Linked DNA regions of Homo sapiens: region 2 is linked to region 1. The links are contacts of gene promoters, found by promoter capture Hi-C in human tissues and cell types (Jung and others, 2019). All regions are on one chromosome and are shown on one strand. The core of a region is centred on a gene start or on the middle of the fragment in contact, and the rest is flanking DNA. Distances in the headings are between cores, read along the strand shown.

The links. The method cuts DNA at HindIII sites, captures the fragments that hold promoters and counts their contacts. A contact is called where the count stands out against the background at its distance.
Region 2: a contact is called between a fragment that was not itself captured here and the fragment with the promoter of MEIS1 in region 1, in 2 of the 25 tissues and cell types used here (IMR-90 fibroblasts and heart right ventricle).

The regions. Positions count from the first base shown.
Region 1 is chr2:66,433,778-66,436,406 of GRCh38, forward strand. MEIS1 (Meis homeobox 1) reads left to right here and starts at 1,348. Exons shown (of 13, transcript NM_002398.3): 1 at 1,348-2,091. The coding sequence starts at 2,080. RefSeq lists a silencer at 400-499, enhancers at 744-1,620, 1,208-1,307 and a promoter at 1,106-1,646. The HindIII fragment of the contact is 8,281 bases long and covers 1-1,907 here.
Region 2 is chr2:67,562,987-67,565,615 of GRCh38, forward strand. It overlaps LINC02831 (long intergenic non-protein coding RNA 2831), which reads left to right and starts at 1,314. Exons shown (of 7, transcript NR_183413.1): 1 at 1,314-1,479; 2 at 1,817-1,900; 3 at 2,591-2,629. LOC105374786 (a long non-coding RNA gene) reads right to left here. Exons shown (of 4, transcript XR_001739524.2): 2 at 1,442-2,629; 3 at 796-929; 4 at 1-43. The HindIII fragment of the contact is 7,980 bases long and covers 1-2,629 here.

The sequences.
Region 1 (2,629 bases), core at 98-2,597:
ATATAATCACAAGGGAGAAGCTTAGAGCGGGAGAATAAAGAGAAGGGGTGAGGGGGAATTAAAGCCCAGGCAATAGGTGTTAAAGTTAAAAACAAAACAAAACAAAAAACAGTGGTTGGTTGGAGCCTCCGAGTTGTAGGTACAGGCAGCTTTTGTCTGAAATCTCAGCTTCCGAAGCGGATTTCTTTTTCTCTGGCACTGGGAGGTTTCGCCGAGCCGGGTTGGGGACGGGAAAGAGGAGCGCGGGGAAGGATGTCTGGGGTGGTGAGGGCAGGGCTTCGCTGGAGAAAGAGCTAGTGGGGCGCGAGGTTCTTACAGGCCCGGGAGAGGTCGAGGCTGGAGCCCCTCGGCGCCTCTAAGACAAAGGCAGCGGTGGCTGCAGCCGGAGCCTAGCACTCCGGCAGCGTCGCGCCGCGCCGCGCCGCGCCCTGGGCGCACGGCCGCCTCACCCCGAGCGGGTCGGAGAAAGAGCCTCCCTCCCAGCGGCTCCCCGGCCCCGGCTCCGCCCGCGAGGTCTGGGCTGCTGCGAGCCCGCGCCGGGTTTCGCTTTCCGACGATCATAAATAGCTTGGTGTTTGTAAACAGGCGCTGGGGGCACATTCCCCGCGCTCAGCTCATTGTTCCCTCCCTTCCTCTCTACTTCGCGCAGGACGCCTGGGCTGGGGCTGGGAGCCGCCGGGGCTAGGAGGTGGGGGAGTCCAGACCCGAAGTGACAAAATGCTAGCATTTTCTTTCCCCCGGCCGGGCGTCCACCTCTAACAGCAAAGAAACCTCTAAGCTGGGTCTGCAGAAAGCCCGAGCCACCTCAACCCCATGTTCTCAGGACTCCTTAGCAGAGGCTTTCCCAACCTGGCTTCTCCCTCCTTTTCCTCCACGATCCCGCTTTGACTTTTCTCCTTGCAGTGTTTAGTTCTGAGAATTCAGTACTTTGCGCATCACCCCCTGCCCCGAAAAACACTGGCAGACCCCAATAATTTCGAGGAAAGTCATGAAGTCTATGCGCGGAGCCCTGTGCAAAATAACTCCCGCTGCTGCCTGCCCGGCGTTGATTCCCAATTTATTTCAAGAGAGTCGGCTTTGGGGAGAGAGTCTGCAGGGGGAGGGAGAGAAAAGAATACTGAAAATAAAGCTGGCGGCCGCGGGCTACTGCCTGCGTTTGTGTGCGTGTGCCCTGGGTGTGTGGTGTTTGTGCCTGGGCGTGCGATTTAATGGAGCGCCTCTCTGCCTCTCCAGTGCGGCCAGAGCTCGCTTCGCGCACCCACCCCTGCCGAGGAGCCTACTTGCTGCAGCCCAATGCATTGTGTAAGACGCGACCTGTTATGGCCACCACTACTTCCGGGTTCTAGCATTCTGGTCGGAATCCACCTCTCCGCCTGTGCAACACACACTTTACACACGCACGGGGACTGCAAGCGGGCAGCATCGATCGTGGCTCCTTTAAGACAAACTCAGACAGACATTTTTTTTAACCCTCCTTCTCTAATCTCCTTCCAGTGCAGCACTTGCAAAGAGGGAGAGAGAGGGAGAGAAAGAAAGAGAGAGAGAGAAGAGAGAAACTGATTAGGAATTAGGACTGATTCAAGGGAAGCGAGCGCTAGGGCTTTGTGCATTTGAATATTAACATTTGAGGTGTTCTGACCAGAAGAAGACAGAGCGGATGATCATTCATTCACCACGTTGACAACCTCGCCTGTGATTGACAGCTGGAGTGGCAGAAAGCCATGAGATTTGGTAGTTGGGTCTGAGGGGCGCTCTTTTTTTTCCTTTTCTTTCTTTCTTTCTTTTTTTTTTTTTAAACTGATTTTTGGGGGAGAGAAGATCTGCTTTTTTTTGCCCCCGCTGCTGTCTTGGAAACGGAGCGCTTTTATGCTCAGTGACTCGGGCGCTTTGCTTCAGGTCCCGTAGACCGAAGATCTGGGACCAGTAGCTCACGTTGCTGGAGACGTTAAGGGATTTTTCGTCGTGCTTTTTTTTTTTTTTTTTTTTTTTTCCGGGGGAGTTTGAATATTTGTTTCTTTTCACACTGGCCTTAAAGAGGATATATTAGAAGTTGAAGTAGGAAGGGAGCCAGAGAGGCCGATGGCGCAAAGGGTACGTATTAAAAAACAATTGTGGAACTCAAATGTGAGATTAAATTGAAACGTGGCCGAAAGACACTGCTAAAAAGTTTCCTTTTTTTCTCTCTCTCTTTTAAAAAATGAGGCTCCTAAAGCCGTGGCCTAAGCGAGAGGATTTATTCAATGCATTTGTAGACTTATGTATGTTACTTGGAGTTGTTAATTAAAGGAATCTATTTATCTATAGATTCCTAACCAGCAGCTATATAAATAAAAATGCAAGCTCAAACAATCATCTGGGTTTTTTTTTAAAAAAGCTAGATACCTAAAGCTGTAATTTGAACATTCAGAGATCAGAAGTTTAAAGTTATGTTTAAACTAAAATATGCAGCTGGAAACTTCTGATATGTTATTGATTATGCTCATCTTTAATATCACTAGAAGTATTCAGCTTTTTAAAGGAAATAACTTTGTCATAGTATAGCCAATTTTTTGGTCAGAAAACATTCATCTTTTTATAGTAATTTCAATTTGTATAGACTTGTATACAAGGCAATATTTTGCAAGTTTCT
Region 2 (2,629 bases), core at 58-2,557, 1.1 Mb after region 1:
TGGGCAGAACTGTATCATATGGCACCTCCAGTTGCAAGGACATCTGGAAGACAGAATATTTAGCTTTTTCAGACTCTGTATTAGAGACAGGTAATGAGATCCCCTTTGGGAATGAGCGATGAACTGGCCAAATTACAGTTCTAACTAGATAAGCGAAAGCCACAGCAGGCCAGGTGAAATGGAGGTACGGGAAAGTCCAGGGAAGAGTTGTTTAAATCAGTGGTTTCAACCTGGGATGTTCATTGTAATCACCTGGGTATCACCCTCAGCAATCCTAATTTAATTGGCCTTGGGTGTGGTCCAGCATCAGGATCTTTAAAAGCTCCTGTAAGTGATTCTAAGGCACAGCCAAGGTTGAGAGCTACTGGCTTAAAGAGATAAATATCAAGACTTGTATCCTCAAAGAAAATAGCAAAGGTATTAGGTATCTCACCAGCTATTATGTTTTGTGGATTTAAAGTCAAAGATTAAACAAAGGTTTTTAAGAGCTTATATCTGGAAAAGGAGTAAAAGTCTAGAAAAAAATTATTCCCTGATTTTGCAAACACTTGAGTGACAAACAGGCATTAGAACATGAGCAAGTTATTTTTAAAATAATATGTTGATTAATTAAGGTTCACTCAATCTAATAGTTGGAAATATTCATAGAAAAAGTGGGCAGTCTTATCTGTGTAATTAACTGGAAATACATCTCAGCTCCACCCCTTCCAACAGTGGGGGTCTAGTGTAAAATATTGACCTCTCGTAGAGTCTCAGTTTTCCCACTTATAAAATGCGAGAAATGATTGAACCTACCTCAAAAGCCTTTCTGTAAGGAATGATTGAGATAACCTGGATGAAAGGGTTAAATGTCTGGCATGTAGTAACAGCTCAATATCATCGTTCTTGGTCTCCCATTCAGCAAGCTCATTTACAAGCATTCATGTCACCTACAAAGAATTAGCAAGAATTGGGTCTGAAAAACACCAAGGTGACAATTTAATTACTGTTATATGAGGCTTGATGAACTATTATTCAACTATCCAGGGCAAAGTATTGTAAAAGAGATATAAAATGCTGCTGGAGGGACTTATGTTAGATATGATTTAAAAAAATAGTTAACTATGAAGGCAATAAAACATGATAAAACGTTAGTTGAAAAAGCAATGGTTTCTCCTCAGAAAGTCTGCTTTAATAGGAGATATTTTCATATTTCTAGAATAGTCTAAGCCATAGTGTGGTAAATAAATTAACTTTCAACATCCTTTTTGGTCTTTATGACTCAATAATTGTGACTCAACGATATAAACTTAGGAAGATGAAATTCAGATTTCAGTTGAGAAGCAATGCTGTTTCACCTCCCTGAGAGAATTGCCTTGTTTGTGAAATACTACAGAAAAACCTGTATTTTCTCCAGAAAATGAAAGGTCTTGGCCTGAGTAAATCAAGGCAGAAAACTCACCCCCGTGAAAGCTGCAGCTCTGAGAGTGTGTGGGCAGGGTGAGTGTCACAGGTTCAGGTTGTCTGGACTGCCCTTGGGACCCCAGCTCCTCCTTTCCATCATGTTGCGGTCCAGAGTTCAGTTCATACCATCCCAGATGATTTGGGGGTTTGCTTCCTCACTTCAGGCACTCTTTAAATAAGAGGCCTTGTCAGTGGCTCTTCCATCTGGCAGAAAGTGGGTGCTCAATAAATATTTGTTGAATGAGCCTGATCATTCTGATGAAAAGAGACCCCTTTGTTCTTTTGGGCCATTGGGTTTACCATTTACTAAACGGCCTGTGGCTTCCTGGTCTGACAAATTTATAGCACCTGTTTATGTCTTTCTCACCCACAGGCTTCAACAGAATACCTGTGGCTGCACTTACAAAAGGCAGCCAGAAGGACCCGTCCATTCTGGAAAGTACCTTTAGTCTGAAAGGTACAAATCAGAACTTTCACCACATTCCATCTGGCACTCACTGGTGGTGCCAACACCTCAAAAACCCTGCCGGGGCCATTTGTCACCATGTGGACACAGACAGACCACCAGTGAAAGTGGAATTTTTGAATGAGCTTGAATGACCTGCCTATATGTGTAGACAGCCATGGTCACTTTTTCTCCGTAGGATTAGATGTGCTGATTCTAATGTGGTTCACATTAGGCTATTTTCTTTTAAAAGTGAAATTTCTTTTGGAAGCCTGGACATTTCTAAGACGACTTCACATCTATTCACTCATCTTGCCTTCCAAAACAGCTGCTCACAATCTGAATATTAGACTACAAATAGCAAAAACAAACCTCTGTTGTTATTATTACTATATTATTAGGGTTTTTTTAGAATCCCAAGGAATTCTTTATATAATGTAGAGTAAGCTATTAGAAGGAAATCATTATTTTCAATGTGGTTCATCCCATGGAGGTATGGATGGAGAATCCCTGCTCTTTCCTGGAAATGGATGCTGGTTCTTTAGAACAGTGAGTCTTCTTCAAACTGCATAAAATAATCATTATGACATAATCAGCAGCAGTGTGTTACACTCTTGTCATTTTTCCCTAGTGCATTTCCAGGTCTCTATCAGCAGAATTGGAATTACTTCATCATTTTCAGCATTTCTTTTTCCTTTCCAGCATTTATTGCAGAAAAAATATGAGGCTTGCTGGTAGTAT